5 separate regions of the Homo sapiens genome follow, and regions 1, 3, 4 and 5 are each linked to region 2. Evidence: promoter capture Hi-C in 16 types of primary human blood cells and fetal thymus (Javierre and others, 2016). All regions are on one chromosome and are shown on one strand. Each heading gives the region's core, a stretch centred on a gene start or on the middle of the fragment in contact. The rest is flanking DNA. Distances are from core to core; before and after follow the strand shown. Region 1 overlaps ZCCHC14 (zinc finger CCHC-type containing 14). Region 2 holds the start of KLHDC4 (kelch domain containing 4). Region 3 holds the start of C16orf95 (chromosome 16 open reading frame 95). Region 4 holds the start of FBXO31 (F-box protein 31). Region 5 overlaps ZCCHC14 (zinc finger CCHC-type containing 14).

Evidence for each region. The method cuts DNA at HindIII sites, captures the fragments that hold promoters and counts their contacts. A CHiCAGO score of 5 or more calls a contact.
Region 1: a fragment that was not itself captured here is called in contact with the fragment with the promoter of KLHDC4 in region 2 in 2 of 17 cell types (naive CD4 T cells and naive CD8 T cells); the score reaches 6.3 in naive CD4 T cells.
Region 3: a contact is called between the fragment with the promoter of C16orf95 here and the fragment with the promoter of KLHDC4 in region 2, in 3 of 17 cell types (naive CD8 T cells, naive B cells and total CD8 T cells). The highest score is 7.4, in naive CD8 T cells.
Region 4: a contact is called between the fragment with the promoter of FBXO31 here and the fragment with the promoter of KLHDC4 in region 2, in 11 of 17 cell types (naive CD8 T cells, naive CD4 T cells, total CD8 T cells and 8 more). The highest score is 12.2, in naive CD8 T cells.
Region 5: a contact is called between a fragment that was not itself captured here and the fragment with the promoter of KLHDC4 in region 2, in 1 of 17 cell types (endothelial precursors). The highest score is 5.7, in endothelial precursors.

What each region holds. Positions count from the first base shown.
Region 1 is chr16:87,423,195-87,425,894 of GRCh38, forward strand. ZCCHC14 (zinc finger CCHC-type containing 14) reads right to left here. Exons shown (of 13, transcript NM_015144.3): 4 at 616-687. Among named protein-coding and RNA genes, the nearest start is that of MAP1LC3B, 32 kb to the left of the region's middle. RefSeq lists enhancers at 1-490, 491-998, 2,017-2,526. The HindIII fragment of the contact is 7,231 bases long and covers 1-2,700 here.
Region 2 is chr16:87,764,497-87,767,274 of GRCh38, forward strand. It overlaps KLHDC4 (kelch domain containing 4), which reads right to left and starts at 1,490. Exons shown (of 12, transcript NM_017566.4): 1 at 1,296-1,490. The coding sequence starts at 1,394. LOC105371399 (a long non-coding RNA gene) reads left to right here and starts at 1,545. Exons shown (of 3, transcript XR_933871.3): 1 at 1,545-1,845. LOC102724467 (a long non-coding RNA gene) reads right to left here. Exons shown (of 4, transcript NR_120309.1): 4 at 1,835-1,928. RefSeq lists enhancers at 778-1,402, 1,386-1,445, 1,526-1,585. The HindIII fragment of the contact is 5,415 bases long and covers 1-2,778 here.
Region 3 is chr16:87,316,111-87,318,810 of GRCh38, forward strand. It overlaps C16orf95 (chromosome 16 open reading frame 95), which reads right to left and starts at 1,282. Exons shown (of 7, transcript NM_001195124.3): 1 at 981-1,282. The coding sequence starts at 1,132. C16orf95-DT (C16orf95 divergent transcript) reads left to right here and starts at 1,399. Exons shown (of 2, transcript NR_135180.1): 1 at 1,399-1,612; 2 at 1,747-1,933. RefSeq lists an enhancer at 860-1,309. The HindIII fragment of the contact is 6,644 bases long and covers 1-2,700 here.
Region 4 is chr16:87,382,297-87,385,050 of GRCh38, forward strand. It overlaps FBXO31 (F-box protein 31), which reads right to left and starts at 1,480. Exons shown (of 9, transcript NM_024735.5): 1 at 1,109-1,480. The coding sequence starts at 1,448. It overlaps TRM-CAT6-1 (tRNA-Met (anticodon CAT) 6-1), which reads right to left and starts at 1,798; the gene lies at 1,726-1,798. It overlaps LOC124903747 (a long non-coding RNA gene), which reads left to right and starts at 1,637. Exons shown (of 2, transcript XR_007065168.1): 1 at 1,637-1,900. RefSeq lists silencers at 836-1,075, 1,216-1,875 and enhancers at 1,283-1,936, 1,937-2,588. The HindIII fragment of the contact is 7,278 bases long and covers 1-2,754 here.
Region 5 is chr16:87,459,514-87,462,213 of GRCh38, forward strand. ZCCHC14 (zinc finger CCHC-type containing 14) reads right to left here. Exons shown (of 13, transcript NM_015144.3): 2 at 495-618. Among named protein-coding and RNA genes, the nearest start is that of ZCCHC14, 32 kb to the right of the region's middle. The HindIII fragment of the contact is 6,784 bases long and covers 1-2,700 here.

The sequences.
Region 1 (2,700 bases), core at 102-2,601, 340 kb before region 2:
CATGCACACGGAGGCAAAGAGGCATTTATTTAGTAGTGGAACTTTCTGTTCAATGGTATCTGCTGAACCAGATATTTGTAAAGATAAACGTGGGAGGACCACTTGAGCACCAGGAGGTCAAGGCTGCAGTGAGCTGTGATGATGGTACCACCACAACCCAGCCTGGGCGAGAGCAAGATCCAGTCTCTTAAAAAAATAATAATAAAATAAATAAATAAATAAAAACAGATAAAGGTAGAACTAGGTGAAGTCTCTACCCACTCAGCCACCTGAGCATGCCTCTCTCCCCCAGCCTTTGCCAAGGAAACCTGGGGGACTGAAAAGTAACAAAAGAAACCAAATGTCCTCATCAGTCGCTCATGCCCGGCGCATCTCTCAGCCTCATCTCAGTCTCAACAAGTGAAGGAGGCATCCGCGGGGTCACGGACCTGTGCTCGCAGCAACGCTCATGTCAGCAGCGGGCCTGGGACTCCACTGTGGCTGGGCAGGAGGCCCCGCCCTGCGCACGCTCACTCGCTAGCTGAAGGGAGTGGCCTCTGAAATTACTCCGTGGTATCATCAGCCACTGGGGAATGTGATTCTTTTAATTTTTATAAGAGCCCTTGATTACCTTACCTTTGAAATAAATTCCGTCACTTCAGAGGAAGATTTGGTTACTGATGTTATTGAAGAATCAGACCACAAGACCTTAAAAACAAACAAACAAACAAACCTTAGAAACAGACACCACATACTTGGTTCCCAGCACGTGTCCTGGTACGACTGGGGCACACGTTCAGTCGGCAGCTGAGCCCAGTGGGCCGTGCACCTGCTGTGGGAAGCACCTAAGCATCCCTTGACTTGTTACAGAAAGAAGAGTCACATAGCTCCAGGCCCTCTAAAGTCTAACTTGTTTTATGCAATTATTCAGATATCACCAAATTACTCCAGAGTGGGGTCTACAGCTGCCTCCTGTAAGTTCTAGAAAATCCCTGACAATTGCTTGTGTGTGCCCTGTTCAACTTCCTCAGGGGACCTCCTCTTCTTAAGTGAGCCTATGTGCCTCAGATGCAAGAGCGACACATTCCCAGAGAGCAGCCCTTCGACCACCGGTAAGGGCCCGTGGTGCGCCCGCCCAGGTGCTGTGGGCACACAGTGAGCCCAGGCCCTGCTCTCAGGACACTGCAGAGCTGTGGGGACAGTGTGAGTCCATTGATAGCAACAGGACAGGGCAGTGATCACTAGGGCAGCAGTGATCACTGCTGGGGAAGAGCAGTGAAAAGGGCTTTCTGGAGGAGATTCTGCAACGTCTGGTGTGCCCAGCCCTTGTGAGCATCAGCTTTCCTTCCCAGCATGCAGCAGCGGGCGGTGTCACTGCATGGCTCCACGGAGGTCCATCTCCCCACATGCACGCTAAGCTCCAGGGGGGAAGGGGCGGTGTCTTTTTGCTCAGCTCTCCCCTGGCTATCACAATGCTCGTCACATGAGGTGCTAAACAAAGCTGACTGAGGGGGAAGGAGAGCGTACTTTTTGCACATTAGAGGGAGTTTCTGCATGGAGAAGAGCTTGGGTTGACTTCTGAAAGGCAAATAAGAAGTTAGCTACAGGATTGAGATGGACAGAGGGGATGGCCTGAAATGACAGGGAGGAGGCCAGGTCAGGAAGGGACAAGCACCAAATGCAAATTGCACTCAAGTCCACAAGAAGCTGGGGGATTTCAAGTCGGCAAATAAAATGACCAAATACATTATGCAAAAGAAAACGCTGTATTAACACTGATTTAGAGCAAAGAGAGCTCACAGGCACCCAAACCACCTCTGCTCCCTCACCCACACCCACACCCACATCCATGGGCCTGCAGTCTAGTCCCCGAGGTGTCCACCCTCCTGCCTGCTGAAACTGAGGCCAGTCTCGTCACATCACGTAGCGTCACTCCTGGGTCTGTTTCATCACGCCCTCATAATACACAGGCCAGTCGAGGAAAGGGCCACCTCTTCTTCACCAGAACCCCAGTGCCTACCAGAATTCATCAAGGCAAGCAGCAGCGTCCCTGGAACTAACGGCTGCAAGGCGTGCACCTTGCCACCCAGAATCTTCCACACCTAAAATGAAAATGCTTGAGGCCGGGCGCAGTGGCTCACACCTGTAATCCCAGCACTTTGGGAGGCTGAGGTGGGCGGATCACCTGAGGTCAGGAGTTCAAGACCAGCCTGACCAACGTGGAGAAACCCCGTCTCTACTAAAAATACAAAATTGGCCGGGCATGGTGGCAGGCGCCTGTAATCCTAGCTACTTGGGAGACTGAGGTGGGAGAACTGCTTGAACCCGGGAGGGGGAGGCTGCAGTGAGCCGAGATCGCGCCATTGCACTCCAGCCTGGGCAACAAGAGCGAAACTCTATCAAAAAAAAAAAAGAAAGAAAGAAAGAAAAGAAAAGAAAAGAAAATGTTTGAGCTCCTTCTCTGCCTTAAATATTAAAATCTCTCAACACCAAAAATCTTGGGGAGAGGTTCCTAAGCTGCTCCCCACACAGAACTCCAAGAACACCACCACCAACAGACACAAACCCCTGCCGTGAAGATGGCTGTCCCCCGCGCTGCTGACAGCGTGTCTCTTTCAAGGTAAAGCGTGTCATAGAAAACGTCTCCTCTGCACAGCTCTCACACCTGCCTCTAGGCTGTATCTTTCCTACTGCGCCCTAACCCAGGGAAGATGTGAAATC
Region 2 (2,778 bases), core at 240-2,739:
AAATTAGCTGGGTGTGGTGGTGCATGCCTGTAATCTCAGCTACTTGGGAGGCTGAGGCAGGAGAACCACTTGAACCTGGGAGGCGGAGGTGCAGTGAGCTGAGATCGCACCATTGCACTCCACCCTGGGCAACAAGAGTGAAACTCCTTCAAAAAAAAAAAAAAAAAAAAAAAAAAAAAGCAGAAAGCAGCTAACAGCTGGTTACTGAGTGCTTACTTTCTGCCAAGCACCATTCTGAAGATACCACACAGATGAACTGACTTCCTGTGCCACAACCCTAGCCAGCAGGTCATGCCACTGCAGCCCAGCCTAGGTGACAGAGCAAGACTCTGTCAAAAAAAAAAAAAAAAAAAAGAAAGAGCCTAAGAGGAGTGTGAGGGAAAAGTCCAACTCCATTATTTAAGAGATGAGGACATGGAGAGATCAATGACTTAGGAAGAAAAGGGACAAAGGACTGTGGTCAAGAGCTCCTGATTCAGGACATCTGGTCACATCCCAGTTCCATACCACTTCATGGTTCACCTGTTGGTCTTCCTGTCAAATGGGAATACCAGTGCTACGGAACTGACCTGCTCGTGAGGAGTAAAGCCCAGGGAGCTGTGCCTGGCGCACGGCAGGCCATAAAACTGGCCCCGGTTAGGGAATCCATGAGCAGCAGCCGCAGAACACTCAACCCCAAGGTCAGGACGGATCCTCCTGCAGACCCCGGGCTGAGGACCAGAGGGAAGGAGACAACCGTGATGGCCGCCATCAGCTGCTACGGGATACCCCGTGGCTCCAGTGCCTTCTTCACTTAACCATCTGCTGCTCACTGCTCAGGGCTGCTGTGATGATTATTTGCCCTCTTTTGAAAGAAAAGTAAGGTTCAGAAAAGTTAAGAGTCTTACTCCCAGACCACACATCATGCAGAGGCAGCCCCCGGCTCAACCTCAGGTCTTCCTGTGCCAAACCCCTCCCTCTTCTCACCACCCAGCCTCCCTTCAGAGGGAGGGTGGAGGGAGAAGGGAGGAGGGGGAGGAAACGCAGAAAAACGCCCGTGACACCACACTAAGAAAAGCAAGCACGTTAAAGGGGGCAGCTCCGAGAAGCGGACAGACACACGTGGAGACTCAGGAGGGGGCGGGCCCCGTCTGGGCTGCCCGGACGCGGCGCCGGGGCAGTTCCTACGGCCTCCAGCTCTCCCGCAGGGCCGGCGCGGCTCCCACGGCCGACCCGTAACCCCGGGGGGCGCAGGGAGTCGGCCGAGGCTGCACGGCCGCGACGTCGGGCCGCTAAGCCCGGTCTGACCCGCTCACCTCCTCCTTCCGCGAGCGCTTAGACACCTTCTTCTCCATCTTGGCGGCCGTCTTCTCCGCGCCGCGGCCCTTCTTCTCCTTCTTGCCCTTCTTGCCCATCTTGCCGGGTCCCAAGCCGCGACGGGACACCAGGAAAGAAAACGGCCCGCGCTCTCCGCTCGGAAACAGGTGCTCGTGGGGCGGAGCTCGGCGCACAGAAATGGAGTCACTTCCGGCCCCGAGTTCGAGCCGCTTCCGGGTAGAGGTGCGGCTGGGCCCTTTACGAGGTTCGGTCTTGGAGCTCCGTCTTCGGCAGCGGGCTCGGGGGCCTCGGACTCTGCATAAGGCCCCGGAAAAGATGACCGGCCCCGGGCTGGGCGCGGTGGCTCATGCCTGTAACCCTGGAGCTTTGGGAGGCCTTGGCGGGCGGATCGCTTGAGTCCAGGAGTTCGAGATCAGCCTGGGCAACAAAGCGAGACACCACCCCCCACCCCCAGTCGCTACAGAAGAAAAAAAAAAAAATTAACCGGGCGTGGTGTCTCGCGCCCAGTGGTCCTAGCTCCTCGGGAAGGTGAGGCGGGAAGATCGCTTGAGTCAAGGAGTTCCAGGCAGCAATGCGCCCCTGCACCCCAACCTGGGCGACAGAGCGAGATCCTGTTTCAAAAAACAAAAAAGATGGCAGCCCCGGCCTGACATACCCCGGCCATGCTCGCCAATTCTCACGCCCTGTGCCCCCACCTAGCCTGTCCCCGTGTCCTAGGAGACGTGCCCTCTGAGTTTTATTTTTTATTTCTATTTTTTTGAGGCAGGGTCTTGCTCTGTCGCCCAGGCTGGAGTGCGGTAGCGCGATCTCGGCTCGCTGTAACCTCCGCCTCTGGAGTAGCTGGGACCACAGGAGCCCACCACGCCCGGCTCATTTTCTCTTGAGTTTTCCGGGGTGCACGTGCCCCCCGTTAAGGCACATTGCTTCGCCCTGGGTAGAACTAAGTGGGCGACTCTTGGGCTAGCCCCATTTTTTCCCCTCAGACCAAACAAATGAGTGCTTTTTTCCCAGAAAAAAAATTTCACACAGTTATAAGATTTTGCAGATCCTGAGTAAGACAGTCCCTGCCGGGCGCGGTGGCTCACGCCTGTAATCCCAGCACTTTGGGAGGCCGAGGTGAGTGGATCACGAGGTCAGGAGTTCGAGACCAGCCTAGCCAACATGGTGAAACCCCCGTCTCTACTAAAACTACAAAAATTAGCCAGGCGTGGTGGTGGGCACCTGTAATCCCAGCTACTTGGGAGGCTGAGGCAGGAGAATTGCTTGAACCCAGGGGGCAGAGGTTGCAATGAGCTGAGATCAAGCCACTTCACTCCAGCTTGGGCAAAAGAGCAAAATTCCATCTTAAAAAAAAAAAAAAATGGGGGGGCCCTTCCACCTTCCCATTTAAAATGTGCCAGACACTGTTAGGTACTAAGGGCATGTCCTCAAATGTCCTAACATGGAGGACTTTTGTTTCTT
Region 3 (2,700 bases), core at 32-2,531, 450 kb before region 2:
GGAGCATCAGAAAAGACAGGAGCATTCCAACCTGCTGAGAACTTTCCAAGACATGTAGCTGCCAATCACATCACCTAGGATGATCTGTCAGACACCCTCAACTTACTGAAATACTGAAGAAAAAACATCGTCAAACTGTCCATTAATGAACCTCCTTCCACTATAAAAACCCGGGTGCTTTGTCTCTGGGATGACAAAGCACTTGGGGTTACACAGCCTGTGTGGCTCTTCCCTGTTCCACTCCCCAACAAACTGCTTGAATGTTGGCTGGATGAAGCGTCTCCAGTGGGTGCAAAGCCCTGCTTCCCTGACAGTAGTGGGTCAAAGTGCTTTGTATGTGGAAACCGTAAGAGCGATATAAGTGTTTTTGGGTTTCATTGTCATAATAACCATTATTATTATTGCTATTTTTGTGAGAGTAATAGGTTCACGCATCAACTCTCCCAGATAATGCTTGAAAACAGAGGATGGGGCACTGCCCTCCACAGCATCCGAGGCCCCTTCTGGTAATGACAGCACTGCTATATTCCTGGTGGGGAGGGGGGGGGCCACAGCCATCTCAGTCCTTGTAGTTCAGGTGGGCCAAACTCACCACTGCCCAGCCTGGAAAGCTGGGAAAAAAAAGAATCTCCTTTTTGTTGAGGTTGATAATCTGATAACATGTAAACCTCAGGAGGTCCTGGTGATCATCTTGCCTCCACAAGGGAAGCCAGCAAAAAGGAAGGAAGCTGAGAGATGGAGAGAAACCTTCCAGGACCATGGTCAATGTGTACCTGGATACATCCATGCCTGAAGGCCTACTTCTGACATTTTCAGTTATGTGGAACCATCAGTTGCGTTTTTGTTAAGCCAATGTAAGTGAGGTTCCTGTGGGTGGCGGTCAAGAGTTCTGCCTGTGCATAGGTCATGGAGCAATGCCGGGCCGGGAACTCACAGGCGAGGTGTCGGGTAGCCGCGGGCAGGATTCAGGACTCACTTGCCTGCCATCCTGCGCGCTGGGTGTGAGTGCCAACCTGCAGAGCCCGACGCACCCCGCGCCCGGCCCCCCGGCAGCAGCGCCTGAGGCTGCTCCAGTGGCCTCATGATGATGGTGACAACGCCGCGGGGACGGTGGGGACCGGCTCGCACGCATATGGCTTCTTATGGCTGACGCGCCCTTTCACACACACATCGTCCGCAGGCCCTGACGCCCTGGCTCCCGCCTTTCCCTCCTGCCCCAGGAGGAACCCAACCCGAGCTCAACCCCAGCCCCAACCTCAACCGCTCAGAGGAGCCCAACAACGCCCGCGCGCCCGCCCGTCCCGCTGACTAGCCCGCGCCCAGCCAATCAAAATTGGCCTTCTAGGTATGTGACCTTAGCTGGCAGCTGATTGGTCCCTCACGAGAGACGCGGGGTCAGCGGCTCAGAGCGCGGCTGTGTGGGGCTGCGGGGCTCCCGCCATGCCCGCTGGGGTAGGTCCTGCGGACCCCGGCCACTGGAGCCACTCATCATTTCCGACGGATGGGCCGGAGGGGCCGCCGGCCGCCCCAGCCAGGGTCTCGGTAGCCTGCAAGGAGAGAAAGAGGTGGGAGCAGCCCGCGCGGGGCCCTGCGTCTTGCATAGGCGCTTCTGGTAAAATCACTCCTTTATCTCAGATAATGAGTTGGCGCTGGATCGCTGCGTCCTCAGGTGGGGCTCGAATCGTGACTTTTAGAGAAATAGGTTTTCTTTCTTTTTTTTTTTTTTTAACAACATGGGGTTTAAAGGGCGCGGAATTGGAAGCAGTCGTCACCCGGAGGCCTGGGCGTGCAAGCACCGAAGCTCTGGCTGGCCCTGAGCCTCCCCACCCCACCCGCTCTTTTCGCTGGAACGCGTGTACTTTGGGCAGTTGCTGACGTGGAGACAGGACGTATGTCTTCATATTTTAGTAAAACCCAATGCCCTCTGCCTCTCTGATTATGTTCTTTAAGTTATCGCCAGTTCCAATTTGTATTTCTTGGAAACGGTTGGGTCTTCCCTCACTTTTCAGTATTTTCATGTAGACTCAAATACTCTGGATTAATATTTGTATTTGCCCAAACCATCACGAGCACCTCTTACCCTGATGGGCAATACTTCAGTGTGCTGCGTTCTGGCCACAGAGCAAACAGGGTGCTCCCAGGCACTGCCCTCTCGGATTTCTTGCCTTGTTATTTAATCATTAAGATCGTGACCTATGAGCAGGACTGTTTCCAGCCAGCACATACACATGTCCTCTCCTGGCCAGCATCCATGCTGATTAGACGGTGCCCCTGCCATACTAGCTGCCTAATATTTCAGATACCCCACCCCGTGTGTGTGTGTAAATCATGTCACTGCCCTCTTTGTAGCTAATGACAAAATTCCAAGAGTCACCATTAGCCTAGCACATTATGCCTGTCTCATTTCTGCCCACTTTGGAGCACTCGGCTTCTCTGCTGTTTTCCTCCAGAGCACACTGAAACACTGCCATAGCACAGCAGGGCATAGAAGACAGGCTCATGCTCCCCTGGACGCTCAGGCCTTCACCTCGGGCACACTAGGTCTTGTCATTCCATGTCAAGAATAGCTCTTCACTGCCCTCACCCACCCAAGAATGGCTAAAATTAAAAGGACTGACAATACCTAGTTTGTCGAGGATGTCACAGCTGGAACCCTCATACATGGCTCATGAAATTGATAAAACCACATTGGCAAACTGG
Region 4 (2,754 bases), core at 230-2,729, 380 kb before region 2:
TCAGAGGTTTTTTAAAATGTTAAGAGTGGTTTATTTTTGACTGCTGGGGTCTCTGATGGTATTTACTTTGTTCCTTTTGCTGTTCTGCATCGCTTGGATGTTTTCTAACCTGTCCTTTTTACCTAAATATGAGCTGCTTGAACATCAAAGAGCTGTCAACCTTTAAACAGAGAGAGCCTTGAACTCCAGATTAAATAAACATCTCCTCCTGTGATCTGTTACATCCAATATTGCTGAAGGCAAAAGTCCAGCCCGCACCGCTGTGATCCATCCGTCTCTCTACGCCCCCACCATCAGGAGCCCCCGACACTGGGCTTCCCCTACTCCCGTAATTTTTTTTGTTGCTGTTGTTTGAGACCAAGTCGCACTCTGTCGCCTAGGGTGGAGTGCAATGGCCCAGATGTTGGCTCAGTGCAACCTCCGCCTCCCGGGTTCAAGCCATTCTTCTGCCTCACCCTCCCGAGTAGCTGGGATTACAGGCGCCCGCTACCACGCCCGGCTAATTTTTGTATTTTTGTAAGTAGAGACGGGGTTTTACCATCTTCACCAGGCTGGTCTCGAACTCCTGACCTCAGGTGACCCGCCCGCCTCGGCCTCCCTAAGTGCTGAGATTACAGGCGTGAAACCGCGCCCGGCCTGCTCCCATTTCTTCAAGTTCACCTCGTCTCTGGTCAGGGCCAGCGGGGCACCCTCGGCTCGCCTTCAAGACAGGGGCAGAGGAGGCGGCCCCCAGGCGTCAGCTTAGGCCCCGCGCAGACCTCGAGGGATCCCAGCCCCAGCTCCCGGCACGGCCTCGGCCCCGTGGTGTCCCGTGCCCCGCGTCAGGGCCTCTTCGATGCCTCCCTGACGCCCTCAACCCCTCCCTACCCCGTCTGCCTCTCTTGGACCCCTCGGACCCTCCCTAACCGCCTCAAATACCTCCCTGGCCCCCTCAACGTGGTGTCACCGCGGCCGCTCCCCACCCACACCCAAAACACCACATCGCCGGGCCCCGCGCCCAACTGGTGGCCCCCGGCCGGGGCCACCGCCCCCGCCACTCCCAGCTCCGAGGCCTCCACCTGGCAGGGACCCCCCGCCCCTCCCGGCCCCGCCACCCCCGCGCGCTCACCCTCACGGCAACGCCTCCTCCAGATGGTGTCGGTGTGGAGGATGCGCCGGAACTTCGTGCAGACCTGGGCCAAGCTGGGTAGGTCCGTGCCCGGCAGCGACGCGAAGATCTCCACCAGCAGCTCGGGCGGCAGCTCCAGCAGCGAGCAGCGCGGGGGCGGCGGCGAGGGGCCCGCGCACAAGCCGCCCCCGACCCCGGCGCTAGCCTCGATGCGCTCCTCCTCGGGGTCTGTGTCCGGCTCGCTGTCGGCCGCCGCCGTCTCGGCCGGGCCCCGGCGCTGCTGGCGGCGCCGACATCCGCGCGACGGGCCCACGCCGCAAAGGCGAGCACACACCGCCATGCCGCCCAGTGACGGCCACTGCTGCCGCCTGTGCGCACGCTCCAGCGCGGCCCCGCCCCGCCAGCGCCGAGCCACGCCCCCGCCGCAGAGCTCGCCACGCCCCCTGGAGAGCCTAGCCCCGCCCCTACGTAGAGCTCCGCCCCGGCCGCGCCACCCCCTCCCCGCGGGGCGGCGACCTCAGAGACCCCGCACTGCTGCCCTCCCCTCCAGCGTGAGGGCGCCGCCCGTGACGGGCATGAGAAAAGAAAGTGGTGATGCCGAGTGCAAAACGTTAGACTGCCCCGTGTGAGGCTCGAACTCACGACCTTCAGATTATGAGACTGACGCGCTGCCTACTGCGCTAACGAGGCTGCTCGGCGACCACTTCGCGCCGCGGCTTTTGTGGAGATAGGGGTCGCCCCTCGCGCCCGTGCGTCCCGCTTCCGGCGCCCGAAACTGTGCCGCGCCGGCCGGTGAGTAGAAAGATGCGCCTTACAGCCTCCAAATACAGAGGCAGCAGCCAGAACCCCAAAGGGCGCCTAGAAGCCCTTTTGTCCATTGAAACAACGCGCGTTCCATCGTCTCCGCCTTATGGTAACCAAAAGGCCCGAGCTGCGGAGCTCTGCAGGGACCTTCGGGGATCCCGAGCTCCCTGCGGAAGCCCCGGGGAGGGCTTGGAGGGGCGGCGGCCGGCGCGGCCCAAGAGATCCGGGGATGCGCGCCCGGTCTGGAAAGGGAGGCCCTGCCATGCGGCGCCGCCCAAAGGGCGCCTGTTCCTGCAGCTGCTGGGAGCCGCGCACGCCTGCTCCAGCTGGGCTCCGCCGAGGCCGCTGAGCGGGGTCGTCTCCCAGGTCCGCGGGTGGTGACCGCGAAGGCGTCCTCTCACCTGAGCAGCCGCGCACGTCGCCGTGGGCTCGCCTCGGACCCCATCTCTTGGAGGCCCAGGCGGGAGTATCAATCGAGGCCAGGAGCTCGAGACCGGCCTGGGCAATACAGCGAGACCCTGTCTACAAAACAAAATTTTAGAAAGAGAAGCTGAGACGGGAGGATCGCTTGATCCCAGGAGGCCGAGGCTGTAGTGACCCGTGATGGTGCCACTGCACTTCAGCCTGGGCAACACAGCGTGACCCTGTCTCCAAAACAAACAAAAAACAAAAATAGCCACAAATGGCTGGGCGCGGTGGCTCACGTCTGTAATCCCAGCACTTTGGGAGGCGGAGAAGGGTGCATCACCTGAGGTCAGGAGTTTGAGACCCGCCTGACCAACATGGTGAAACCCTGTCTCTTCAAACAAACAAACAAACAAACCACACAGGCCAGGCGCAGT
Region 5 (2,700 bases), core at 201-2,700, 310 kb before region 2:
TTTTTTTTTTTTTCAGACGGAGTTTTGCTCTTGTTGCCCAGGCTGGAGTGCAATGGCGTGATCTTGGCTTACCACGACCTCCGCCTCCTGGGTTCAAGCGATTCTCCTGCCTCAGCCTCCCGAGTAGCTGGGATTACAGATGCCCGCCACCACGCCCAGCTAATTTTGTATTTTTAGTAGAGATGGGGTTTCTTCATGTTGGTCAGGCTGGTCTCAAACTCCCAACCTCAGGTGATCCGCCCACCTCAGTCTCCCAAAGTGCTGGGATTACAGGTGTGAGAAACCACGTCTGGACTTCTCCTTAAAAAACATCAATAATTGAGATTTTTACAGCCAAAGCATATTCATGTATTGCTTATAGAATTTAGAAAAATACACATAAGATTGGCATTTATGAAAGATCTGAAAGCATTTAACAATGCCCTCACGGGGATCTGGGGTGTGCCCATCCTCCGTCCGTCAGACGTCCTCCTGAAACCCGTGCGTGCACTCACCTTTGCTGTGTTTTCCTAAGGGCCTCTTGGGCAGCGACTCCTCCGTGGAATGTGCTGATGTGTGCAGGGCATTCTCCAAACTATTACTGACACTGCTGACAGGGGCCTCAGTTCTTGGAGTGATCTGAGGGAACAGAAACAGAATCATCTTATTTTCTCCCACGGAGTTAATAGGGGACAATTTTATTTGTTAATTAAGTCTTTCATAATTACCTTGGTTTCCATTTTTCTACAAAACATGTATTATTATAATAATAAGCCTTCCCCAAGAAAGATGAAAATTTCACCTACTACTCTCCACTGAAAGTGCAAAAGAGCTCAGATAACTTGAGTCAAACACGGGCGCTTACGTCTTGTGGCTGGGGTTCATCGGGTGCACAGAAACTATGGTAGCCAAAGAGGCCGGGCACGGTGGCTCACGCCTGTTATCCCAGCACTTTAGGAGGCTGACGCAGGTGGATCTCTTGAGCCCAGGAGTTCAAGACCAGCCTGGCCAACATGGTGAAACCCCATCTCTATTAAAAATACAAAAATTAGCCAGGCGTGATGGCAAGTGCCTATAGTCCCAGCTACTCGGGAGGCTGACGTGGGAGGATCACTTGAACCCAGGAGGCAGGGGCTGCAGTGAGCCAAGATGGTGACACTACACTCCAGCCTGGGCAACAGAGTAAGGCTCTATCTCCAAGAAAAAAAAAAGGAACTATGTTAGCCAAGGTGGCATGAATTATATATTTTTATTTGAGGCAAACTTTTATTTTCATATTTCTTCAAATCAAATAGCTCCCTATAAAACGAATTACACAGCAGGACTTAACATTCTCCTTCTATAAATCTTAAATCATAAAATGCTTTAAAAACAACAGCAAAGAACAGAATACAACTCGGTCTATTTGGGGTACAGTTTGAAAAAGCATATCCTAAAATTACATCCCAATTCCATTTCTAGGAATTCACCATACCAAGTACTCACACGTGAGAAAATGACCTGATGGGGTGTGCCCACTGCAGGAGTGTCTGTGACAGGGAAAGCGGGGCACACCCTCAGTCCCCATCGACAGAGACCTGCTAAGCACAGACAGTGTACCTGCAGGTGACGGCCGCCCCCAAGCTGTGGGTGGGGGAGGCCCTCCTGACCACCAGTGCTCCCAACACACAACAAGCGCAGAAACAAGCCACGGGCTAGCCAGGCTCGTCCCACCCCTCCTGCTTCCTGGGTTCAGTGATGGTGTGAATGTGGAATAAGCCGGAAGGGGCCCAGAGGGGCGAGAGGAGGGGGGTAGCAATAACCTTCATTCCCTCCCCATCAGTATTTTAAAATTTCACAGCCAAAACACATTTATAACTTATAGGATTTAGAAGAATAAAAATGGCCAATGCTGTAACTTCTTTACAGTCTCAATGTATTTCAAAATTTCGGAGGATATGAGAGGCGTAAGATTTTAAAGTTCATCAAAAGAGCTGATAAGCAATGCTGCATTCACAGTATGGGAAAGTACATGGCACAAGCAGCCTGGAAAATGGCCTGACCTCTCCAGCCTCCACTTGTTCTTTCATCTCATACCTGGACGGTAGGTGGCAGTTGACCAAAACATCCCCTAAGTTCACTCACAAGCACAGATCCCAGCACTCGCTCTGCAGAGGGCTGGCCAGGTAGGCGTGGCCTCGACCTCAGACAGGATGAAAGTGGAGGCGGAAGCTGGAGTTGGGAGGAAAGGGTGGAGACTGCTGCCACTCCGGCAGGACCAGCACCTGCTGTATTCCACAGACAGCAAGCCACAGGGGCCACACCCAAGTCCATAGCGAGATCCTCTGATCCCAGCTCTGTCAATGCCCCTGCCCCCCAGCAAGAAGCCCTCCTGGGCTGTTCATGCAGGGAGAGGGACTAACAGATCCCACGCGGCTCAACAGATGCCTTCCAAGAAAAGCAACTTGTCACAGGGCTACATAATTGGGAAGTTTATGTAACTCGAGAAAATAAGGCCGGGCGCAGCAGCTCATGGCTATAATCCCAGCACTTTGGGAGGCTGAGGCAGGAGGACTGCTTGAAACTATGAGTTTGTTACTGGCCTGGGTAACAGCGAGACCCTGTCTCTATTTAAATTTCTAAAAAAGTAAAAAAAAAAAAAAAAGTCCTAGCCATGCAGCAACTCCTCCAGAAAGTCAATTCTTTGGATAACTTAATAACATGTTATCAAGAAAATAAAAT